Linked DNA regions of Homo sapiens: region 1 is linked to region 2. The links are contacts of gene promoters, found by promoter capture Hi-C in blood cells and fetal thymus (Javierre and others, 2016). All regions are on one chromosome and are shown on one strand. The core of a region is centred on a gene start or on the middle of the fragment in contact, and the rest is flanking DNA. Distances in the headings are between cores, read along the strand shown. Region 1 overlaps ANKRD24 (ankyrin repeat domain 24). Region 2 holds the start of MRPL54 (mitochondrial ribosomal protein L54).

Region 1 (5,219 bases), core at 1,707-4,206, 440 kb after region 2:
GGGTCCCCTGGAGATGCAGCCGGCGGCCTGCGCTGGTGAGGGAGCCGGGCCCCCGGCGCCGCGTCCTCCTCATCCTCCAGGCGACAAGGTCAGGAGGGGCCGGGGCGGCGCCCCTTCCCTCAGCCCCCAGCCCCCAGCCCCCTACCTGGGTCTTCCCATTCCATCCCGTGGGGGAGGGGGCTGGCGAGGAGGGCAAGGGGGAGGGGGCGGCACCAGGGAGGGCGGGACCGGGCGGGCGGGCGGGGCGGGGAGCTCCGGCAGCGCCCAGCCCCGCCCTCCGGCCGCTCCCCGCGGTCCCTCCAGACCCTCTGGCCGCCGCCTCCTCTTGGAACCCCGTGCGCCCCCCGCGCCCCGCGCCCCGGACGCCATGAAGCAGCTGTGTCTGTGCGCAGCCGCCTCCTTCGCGGTAGGGCCCGGGGAGGGGGCGCAGGAGCGGGCGGGGCGCGGGTACCTCCTCTCCCCTCCCTTCCCCGTCCCCGGCTGACCTGGACCACCCCCCCATTCCAGACCCGGGAAAGATGGTCGGCGGCGGGGGGTGGGGGGGAACAGAGGTTGGGGCAGCTTTTGGGGGAATGGAAGAGACATTTGGGGAGACATGTGGACACGTTTTGGAAGACTCTTTGAAACAAATGGGGACATTTAGGAACATTTAGAGGGCATTGGGGGGTGCAGTTTTGGGAAAACATTTTGGAGACAGATGGGGTCATTGAGGGGACAACTTGGAAGCTATTTTGGGAGAGCCGATTTTGCGAAGAGGTAATGATTTGGAGAACAGTTTGGGAGAACATTTGAGGGATGTTTTTGGAGGATATTTTTGGGACATGACGGTATCATTGGGAAGGATGGTTTTACAGAACACTTCAGGAATTTGGGGGAGACATTTCGTAATGCATTTCAGGCTATAGTGTTGAGGGGAGAAGCCTCGGGATGTTTAGGGGACAGTGGTGGCATTTCAGGGCAGTTGTGGATAAACAGGGCAGAGGATGGTCCTGAGAGGCATTTAAAGGGGACTTTTAGGGGTTCAGATGGGACTTTGGAGGGTAGTTTGGAAAAGACTCATGGATCCATTTGCTGGGGGCGATGTTGCAGGGGTGGCTTTCACTAAGGGATGAATTGGGGGACAACTTTTTTTATTGTACAGAGTGGGTCTTGCTGTGTTGCCTAGGCTGGTCTCAAAATTCCTGGGCTCAAATGATCCTCCCACCTCAGCCTCCCAAGCAGCTACAGGCATGAGCCACCATGCCCCGCTGATGATTTTTATTTTTTGTAGAGACGGGGTCCTACTATGGTGCCCAGGTTTGTCTCAAACTCCTAGGCTCAAGCGATCCTCCCACCTTGGCCTCCCCAGATGCTGGGACTACAGGCGTGAGCCTCCATGCTCAGCCCAGGGGACAACGTTTTGGAAATAGATGCCAGGGGGCTGCTCAGGGGATGATGCTGGTGGTGGGCTTTTGTTGGACAACTGGGGTGATGGGCCTGGGGGCAGATGCTGGGGGTCGCAGGCTTGGGGGACACTGTCTGAGGACCCCCTCGCCCAGGACCACCTCCCCCTGCAGCTGCGGCTCAGCCCCACTGACCTTGGCTCCTGCCCGCCCTGCGGCCCCTGCCCCATCCCGAAGCCGGCAGCCAGAGGCAGGCGCCAGGCAAGTGCCCAGGGGCAGGTGGTGAGAGCCCGGAGCCCCTGTCGGGGGCGTGGGGAGGGGACAGCAGCCAACACTGCCCCACGCACTTCTGGGCGTGCCCTGCAGAGTCAAGACTGGGGCAAGAGTGACGAGAGGCTGCTACAAGCCGTGGAAAACAACGATGCACCTCGGGTGGCCGCCCTCATCGCCCGCAAGGGGCTGGTGCCCACGAAGCTAGACCCCGAGGGCAAGTCCGCGTGAGTGCCCGCGACCCGGGAGTGAGATGGCTGAGGGGTGGCAACCTTGCGGCTGAACCCTTGTCTCTCACCTCCAGGTTCCACCTGGCGGCCATGCGGGGTGCGGCCAGCTGTCTGGAGGTGATGATAGCTCATGGCAGCAATGTCATGAGCGCGGACGGGGCAGGTACTGCCAGCTGGGCCCCGGGGAGGGAGGAGGAACTAAGCCCAGGTGCCCAGCCTGAGGGTCCAGCCAGACCCTGCTCCCAGGTCTCAATGTTCCCCGCTGAAAAAAGGGGAGGCTCCCTCTGGTGCTCCTCCCCTGCCCCCAGGGAGACACACAGGGGCATGTTAGGATGGGGTGGCCAAAGATAGAGACTGTGGCTGGCACCGAGCAAAGCCAGTGGACAGCTTGTGGATGGGGAGTGACTAGGATTCAGGTATTGGTTCAGTTGGATGGGGAAGTAGCTGGCATGGGGAAGTAGCTGGGGCTTGGGGGATAGCTGCAAAGTTTCTGGGGTTTTGTTGTTTTGTTTTTCTTTTTTGGGGGGAGGGACAGGGTCTCCCTCTGTCACCCAGGCTTGAGTGCAGTGGCCATGATCTCAGCTCACTGCAGTCTCCATTTCCTGGGCTCAAGGGATCCCCTCCAACCTCAGCCTCCCAAGTAGCTAGGACTATAGGCGCACACCACCATGCCCAGTTAATTTTTCTATTCTTAGTAGGGATGGGGTCTCCCTGTGTTGCCCAGGCCGGTCTTGAACTCCTGGGCTCTAAGTGATCCTTCCACCTCAGACTCCCAAAGTGCTGAGATTATAGGTGTGAGCCACCATGCCAAGCCTGGGGAAGTTTCTAGAAAGTGACTGAGGCAGAGGAAGAACTGGGGCTTGGGAGATAACTGGGACCATTGGACGAACTAAGCTTTGAGGTGCATCTGGGATATAGGAGTATCCGAGATAAAGGAAGTGACTGAAGGGAACTGCTTGGAGTTTGGAGGAGGAACTGGATTCATGGGAGTAGCTGAGCTTGCAAAGTATCTGGGGCAAGAGAATAACAAGTAGAGTTTGGGGATATCTGAGGTATATGGGATAGCTGGGATCTAGGAGTAGCTGGAGCTGTGGGAGTAGCTTGAGCTCTTGGAGTAGCTGGGTTACGAGGAGAACTTGTATGTATGTATGACTTAACTGGAGACCTGGGGGGAATAACTGAGATAAAAATGTGTGGCCAAAAGGAGTAGTTGGGGCTCAGGAGGCAACTAGGCATGGGGACACAGTCAAATCTGAAGCTTTAGGGTCACAGGCATGGTGGGCAGGGAATATGGAATAGCTGGGGATTCATGGAGCATCAGACAGGGACAGAGTTGGCATTTGGAAGAGGAAGGGTATATGGATTGGCAAGAACATATACAGCAACTGTGGGTTGTGAAGGGCAGAGCTGAAACTTTGGTGTAGTGGACCCTGTAGAGTATCTGGGGACATGGGGAGTAGCTGAGGCAATAGGGCTTGAGGAATAGGTGGGTGTGGACAGTCGCTGAGATGGGATTGTCTGGAATACAGACTAGCCATGGCTTAGAGAGTCTCTGGGTACAGGGAATAGCATGGTTTTGAGAAGTACCTGATGGCCGGGCACCATGGCTCATGTCTGTTAATTCCAGCACTTTGGGAGGCTGAGGTGGGAGGATCGCACGAGCCAAGGAGTTCAAGACGAGCTTGGGCAACATAGCAAGACTCCTGTCTCTACAGAAAATACAAATAAATTAGCCAGACATGGTGGCACTTGCTTGTAGTCCCAGCTACTCGGAAGGCTGAGACAGGAGGATCGCTTGAGCCTAGGTGTTCAAGCCTACAGTGAGCTATGATCACACTGCACTCTAGCCTGGGCCACAGAGCAAGATCCTTTCTGCAGGGAAAAAAGGAGAGAAATACTAGGGTTTACGGACTTTGCTAGACTCAGAAACTCATCACAAGTAGTTGACATGGCTTGGGGAGCAGCTGGGAGCTACTTGAATAGCTGGAGCTCCAGTAAATCTTCTTTCCTTCCCCAGGTTACAATGCCCTCCACCTGGCCGCCAAATACGGGCACCCACAGTGCTTGAAGCAACTACTGCAGGTCATTTACTGTCTTATCTCAGCTACTCCCTTGGCCCCTACTACTCCTGAGTTCCAGCAATTCCTTGAACCCCCAGATGCTCTATGAATCCTAGATATTCCTTGGCCCCTTTTACTCCAGAACCCTAGCTACTCCCTGGATAACCAGGTACTCTCAGACCATCCACATGCTTCTCCTATTTAAGATGTACTCCCAAGCCAGGCGCGGTGGCTCACGCCTGTAATCCCAGCACTTTGGGAGGCTGAGGTCGGTGAAATCGCCTGAGGTCAGGAGTTCGAGACCAGCCTGGCCAACACAGTGAAACCCCGTCTCTACTAAAAATACAAAAAATTAGCTGGGAGCGGTGGTGTGTGCCTGTAATCTCAGCTACTAGGGAGGCTGAGGCAGGAGAATCCCTTGAACTTGGGAGGCGGAGGTTGCAGTGAGCCGAGATCATGCCATTGCACTCCAGCCTGGGCAACAAGAGCGAAACACCATCTAAAATATATATATATACTCCCAATGCCAGGTATTTCCTGAGCTCTGTTTCTCCCCAAGCCCTGGGTCCTTCCTTAGCCCCAGACACTCCCAGAGTTCCCAGCCACTCCTCAAATTCTCAGCTGCTTCTCAGCTCTCAGCTATTTTCTTTTCTCACCAATTTTCATGAAAATGGAGTCCCTTGGGGGCCACGGAAGGGTGAGGCTGAAGTATAGCAGAGCCCAGGGTAGGGAAGGCAGTCCTAGAGAAATCAGGCAGCAAGAAGGATGGCTCCGCCTCAAAGGACTCGCCCCATCCCCAGGCTTCCTGCGTGGTGGACGTCGTGGACAGCAGCGGGTGGACTGCCCTACACCATGCAGGTGGGTGCAGCCCAGCCCTGCCCTGACCCCGAAGCCCAGAGGGTGCTAGACTTGGGGGTTATTCTGCCCAGGGCCCTAGGGACCTGACCTGCTGTGAAGCTTCCTGTCTCCTCCTTTCTTTCTTTCTTTTTTTTTTTTTGAGACGGAGTCTCACTCTGTTGCCCAGGCTGGAGTGCAGTGGCAAGATCTCAGCTCACTGTAACATCCATCTCCCAGGTTCAAGCAATTTTCCTGCCTCAGCCTCCCGAGTAGCTGGGACTAGAGGCACCTGCCACCACACCTGGCTGATGTTTTGTATTTTTAGTAAAGACGGGGTTTCACCATGGTGGCCAGGATGGTCTCGAACTCCTGACCTCAGGTGATCCACCCGCCTTGGCCTCCCAAAGTGCTGGGATTACAGGCGTGAGCCACCGCTCCTG
Region 2 (5,016 bases), core at 1-2,500:
CCCCGACTTCAGGACCCAGCCCCAAGCCCAGACCCTAGTCCCCCCTCAGACCGAAGACCTCAAGCGCCGACTCAGACTGCGCTCTGCACCTCGAGGACACTCACTTCCCAAATCGAGGCCGCCTCAGCCCCGCGCAGCCTCCAGGACCCCGCTCCCCACGGACGGCCCCGACGTAGCCCGGGCCGCGTCCCCAGAAGGCGCAGCTCGGGGATTCCCGGTCCCGGCGCCCGCTCCTCTATCCGCGCAGAGCCCTGGCCCATTGAGCATGCGCGGCCTCGCGAGGCCTGCTGGGAAATGTAGTTCTCCCACCCAGCCTCGCCACGCGGGGGCGCTGGGACAACTGCAGATGTTGGAGGGGAGTTCGAATCCCAGGCTTCCCGGCCCGCAGACTGCCCCGGCTGGCCCCAGGACCTGTTTGTTCTCCTGCAAAATAGGGTTAATAATCACTGCCTGGCTCTGGGGGCTGTGTTCATTATTCCAAAGGATGGCAGATGGGGAGAAGTGGGGTTGGGAAATATTAAAGAAGTGTGAGAGGTGGTTTCCTTGGGACCTTGAGGCACCGGAAGCGTCGTGGAGACCCTGTTAAAGACGGACTTTCGGTTTGGCTCACAGTAGGGAGACACATAGGTGCACCATGGATTTGGGGTCGGCCTGGGAACTTTACCTCCCTGAGAACTCAGTTTCCTCATTATAAGCTGGGGAAAAAATAGTACCTACCTCTCAATTGTGAGGATTAAATTAGATCAAGCGGGTTAAGGATTTAGCAGTAGTAGAGCTGGAAAAGAATATATAAAATATATATTATTAATTTATATATTATATATAAAACATACTATATATTATATGTATTATATATGTTATATATAATTTTAAAAATATAATGTTATAAAAATTAACAGTGATTAGACTCCAGCCCTACTGGAGTATATTAGACTCATTGTTAATCTTCTTTTTTTAACTTTAAAGCTTTGAATAATTACTCATTGGATGGAATCAGGAACATATAAAGTGTGATATTTTTAGTAAATGTTATGTAATTGAAGAAGGGCAAGAAGTCAATGAAATATCCCTTGAACGCCTCCTCCTATAGTAACTGTGTATGTCTACAAAAGTCTGAAGAAATCACCATAGATTATGAAAGCTTGGGAGACCGCATTTCCCAGACACCTCCACGGGGCCTACACTTCCACGGGGCCTACAACTCCCAAACACCCTTGGGCCACTGACGTCTTCCGGAAACGTGCACTTGCAAGCTGCCCGCAATACGTCATGGCGACCAAACGCCTTTTCGGGGCTACCCGGACGTGGGCCGGCTGGGGGGCCTGGGAGCTCCTAAACCCCGCCACTTCCGGAAGACTCCTGGCCCGGGATTATGCCAAGAAACCAGGTGAGCTGGGTTAAGAGGAACCAAATGGGGACGGTGGGTGCACTGAGGAATTGACAGTGCGCAGGCGGTGGTTGGGGAGGTGGTGCTAGAACTGATGCGCAAGCGCAGAGAGGCGGATGCCAGGCTGTATGCGCAGGCGCAGTTTGAGGGACCCAGCGCCGCTTGGAGCTCGGGCGTCTGGCTCGGAGATACTGTAGCGATTGGACCCAGGGCGCAGGCGCCAGCTTGGGGCGGAGCGGCCTGGGAGGAGGATGTGGTTACGTGGAGACCACGCGTTTCACTGCGCAGGCGCGGGTTGGAAAGGATTTGAAGGGAGTCTGGGGAGGTCATGAACTTGGGTTCCAGTTCTGTTTCTCTGCCTGCCTCCAAATCGCTGGGTAACCTTGGCCAAGACGTTACCAAACATTCAAAGAAATTATGGAGCCCGTTTAATTGGCCACTTCAGCAAGAACAAAACAAGGTTATTAAGGTTTAGCTGGATACAGCCTTGCCTGATCTCCTTTGTTGAAAGGGGGAAATTGTCCAATGTTCGGCCTTAAAGACAGACACATAGCAGACAAAATATAACTTGAATGACTTGGTCATTCCAAGCATCGGTGTTACTTAATGCTATGTCCAAATCCCACTTAAAGTTACTTAATGCTGTGTCCAAATCCCACTTAAAGTGATTTCGAGGCCAGGCATGATGGCTCACACCTTTATTCCCGGCACTTTGGGAAGCCAAGGAGGGAGGATCGATTGCTTGAACCCAGGAGTTCGAGACCAGCCTGGGCAACATAGCAGGACCCTGTTTGTATAAAAAAAAAAAAAAATTGCCTGGCGCGGTAGCTCACGCCTGTAATCCCAGCACTTTGGGAGGCTGATGCAGGTGGATCACAAGGTCAGGAATTCAAGATCAGCCTGACCAACATGGTGAAACCCTAGCTCTACTAAAAATACAAAAATTAGTGGGGCATGGTGGCACATGTCTGTAATCCCAGCTACTCAGGAGGCTGAGGCAGGAGAACTGCTTGAACCCAGGAGGCGGAGGTTGCAGTGAGCCGAGATCACGCCACTGCACTCCAGCCTGGGCGACACAGTGAGACTCTGTCTCAAAATAAATAAATAAATAAATAAAAATAAAAATAAGCGGGGCATGGTGGCTCACAACTGTGATCTCAGCTACTTGGGAGGCTGAGGCAGAAGGATCACTTGAGCCTGGGAGTTTGAGGCTGCAGTGAGCCATGATTGTGCCCCTGCCCTCCAGCCTGGGCTTTTATTTTTTATTTTTTTATTTTCTTCAGACGGAGTCTCGCTCTGTCGCCCAGGCTGGAGTGTGCAGTGGCGCAATCTTGGCTCACTGCAAGCTCCGCCTCCTGGGTTCACGCCATTCTCCTGCCTCAGCCTCCCAAGTAGCTGGGACCACAGGTGCCCACCACCATGCCCGGCTAATGTTTTTGTATTTTTAGTAGAGATGGAATTTCACCATGTTAGCCAGGATGGTCTCAACCTCCTGACCTCGTGATCCGCCCACCTTGGCCTCCCAAAGAGCTGGGATTACAGGCGTGAGCCGCCGCGCCCGGCCGGGCTGTCTTTATTTTTTAATTTTTTAGATTTTTTATTTTTTTGAGATGGAATCTTGCTCTGTAACCTAGGCTGGAGTGCAGCGATGCGATCTCAGCTCACTGCAACCTCCGCCTCCCGGGTTCAAGTGATTCTCCTGCCTCAGCCTCCCGAGTAGCTGGGATCACAGGCATATGCCACCATGCCCAGCTAATTTTTTTTTTTGTATTTTTAGTAGAGACAAGTTTTCACCATGTTGGCCAGGCTGGTCTTAAACTCACCTGACCTCAGGTGATCTTCCCACCTCGGCCTCCCAGAGTGCTGGGATTACAGGCATGAGCCACTATGCCTGGCTGAGACCCTGTCTTTAAAAAAAAGTTTTGAGTGGCCGGGCGCGGTGGCTCACGCCTGTAATCCCAACACTTTGGGAGGCCAAGGTGGGCAGATCACGAGGTCAGGAGATCGAGACCATCCTGGCTAACACGGTGAAACCCCGTCTCTACTAAAAATACAAAAAATTAGCTGGGCGTGGTGGTGGGCGCCTGTAGTCCCAGCTACTTGGGAGGCTGAGGCAGGAGAATGGCTTGAACCCGGGAGGCGGAGCTTGCAGTGAGCTGAGACTGCGCCACTGCACTCCACCTGGGCAACAGAGCGAGACTCCGTCTCAAAAAAAAAAAAAAAGAAAGTTTTGAGTGTAGCAGAGTCCAGCCAGGGGCAGAGGCCACCTGAGACAGGGTTCTGTGAGAGAAGTTTGGCTTCCAGAGGAGGGGCTGGGCTGAAATGACTCTCCCTCTCGTCTCCCCAGTTATGAAGGGGGCCAAATCGGGAAAAGGTGCAGTGACCAGCGAGGCCCTCAAGGACCCCGACGTATGCACAGATCCTGTCCAGCTCACCACATATGCCATGGGCGTCAACATCTACAAGGAAGGGCAGGATGTACCCCTGAAACCGGATGCTGAGTACCCTGAATGGTGAGTAGGCCAGGCTGTGTCATCCTGCAATGACTATTCCTTCCTCCGCCCCAGGAGGACCCCTTCCCGGAGAGGCGGATCGCCACTCCAGCCGGAGCCTAATAGTCACACCTACCCATCCTGGCTTTAGGGCAGGGGGCTTCAGGGCTCTGCCCATCTGTAATGGGGTGATGGGACCCATCCCTCCCTCAGAGGGCTGTGAGGAATTCATGAGATTAGAACACATGTCAAGTACCTAAAACAATGCTTTATCTTAAGCAAATACTTAAAAAAAATTTTTTTTCAGGCTGGGCGCCGTGGCTCACACCTGTAATCCCAGCACTTTGGGAGGCAAGGCGTTTGGATCACCTGAGGTCAGGAGTTCGAGACCAGCCTGGCCAACATGGTGAAACCTCGTCTCTACTAAAAATATAAAAATTAGCCGGGTGTGGTGGCACATTCCTGTAGTCCCAGTTACTTGGGAGGCTGAGGCACGAGAATTGCTTGAGCCTGGGAGGCAGAGGTTGCAGTGAGCTGAGATCACGCCATTGTACTCCAGCCTGGGCAACAGAGTGAGACTTGGTCTCAAAAAAAAAAAAAAAAATTTTTTTTTTTCTTCTATATGGAGTCTTGCTCTGTCACCCAGTGTGGAATGCAGTCATGTGGTCTTGGCTCACTGCAACCTCTGCCTCCTGGGTTCAAGCGGTTCTCCTGCCTCAGCCTTCAGAGTAGCTGGGATTACAGGCATGCGCCACCATGCCTGGCTAATTTTTTTTTTTTTTTGAGATGGAGTTTTGCTCTTGTCGCCCAGGCTGGAGTGCAGTGGTGTGATCTTGGCTCACTGCAACCTCCACCTCCCAGTGTTCCAATGATTCTCCTGCCTCAGCCTCCCGAGTAGCTGGGATTACAGGTGCCCGCCGTCACACCCAGCTAATTTTTGTATTTTTAGTAGAGACAGGGTTTCACCATGTTTGCCAGGCTAGTCTCGAACTCCTGATAACCTCGTGATCCGCCTGCCCTGGCCTCCCAAAGTGCTGGGATTACAGGCGTGAGCCACCACGCCTGGCCTAATTTTGTATTTTTAGTAGAGACAGGGTTTCTCCATGTTGGCCAGGCTGGTCTTGAACTCCTGACCTC

Evidence for each region. Contacts are between HindIII fragments. The CHiCAGO score rates a contact against its expected background, and 5 or more counts as called.
Region 1: a fragment that was not itself captured here is called in contact with the fragment with the promoter of MRPL54 in region 2 in 1 of 17 cell types (total CD8 T cells); the score reaches 5.1 in total CD8 T cells.

Annotation. Positions count from the first base shown.
Region 1 is chr19:4,198,127-4,203,345 of GRCh38, forward strand. ANKRD24 (ankyrin repeat domain 24) reads left to right here. Exons shown (of 22, transcript NM_001393985.1): 3 at 1,557-1,643; 4 at 1,749-1,879; 5 at 1,957-2,045; 6 at 3,900-3,964; 7 at 4,743-4,800. Among named protein-coding and RNA genes, the nearest start is that of ANKRD24, 18 kb to the left of the region's middle. RefSeq lists enhancers at 1,203-1,849, 1,850-2,496. The HindIII fragment of the contact is 364 bases long and covers 2,775-3,138 here.
Region 2 is chr19:3,761,432-3,766,447 of GRCh38, forward strand. It overlaps MRPL54 (mitochondrial ribosomal protein L54), which reads left to right and starts at 1,251. Exons shown (of 3, transcript NM_172251.3): 1 at 1,251-1,387; 2 at 3,735-3,900. The coding sequence starts at 1,270. APBA3 (amyloid beta precursor protein binding family A member 3) reads right to left here and starts at 261. Exons shown (of 11, transcript NM_004886.4): 1 at 105-261. It overlaps LOC105372248 (a long non-coding RNA gene), which reads right to left and starts at 1,209. Exons shown (of 3, transcript XR_936268.1): 1 at 1,127-1,209; 2 at 718-775; 3 at 323-423. RefSeq lists a silencer at 146-463 and an enhancer at 1,125-1,614. The HindIII fragment of the contact is 13,040 bases long and covers 1,140-5,016 here.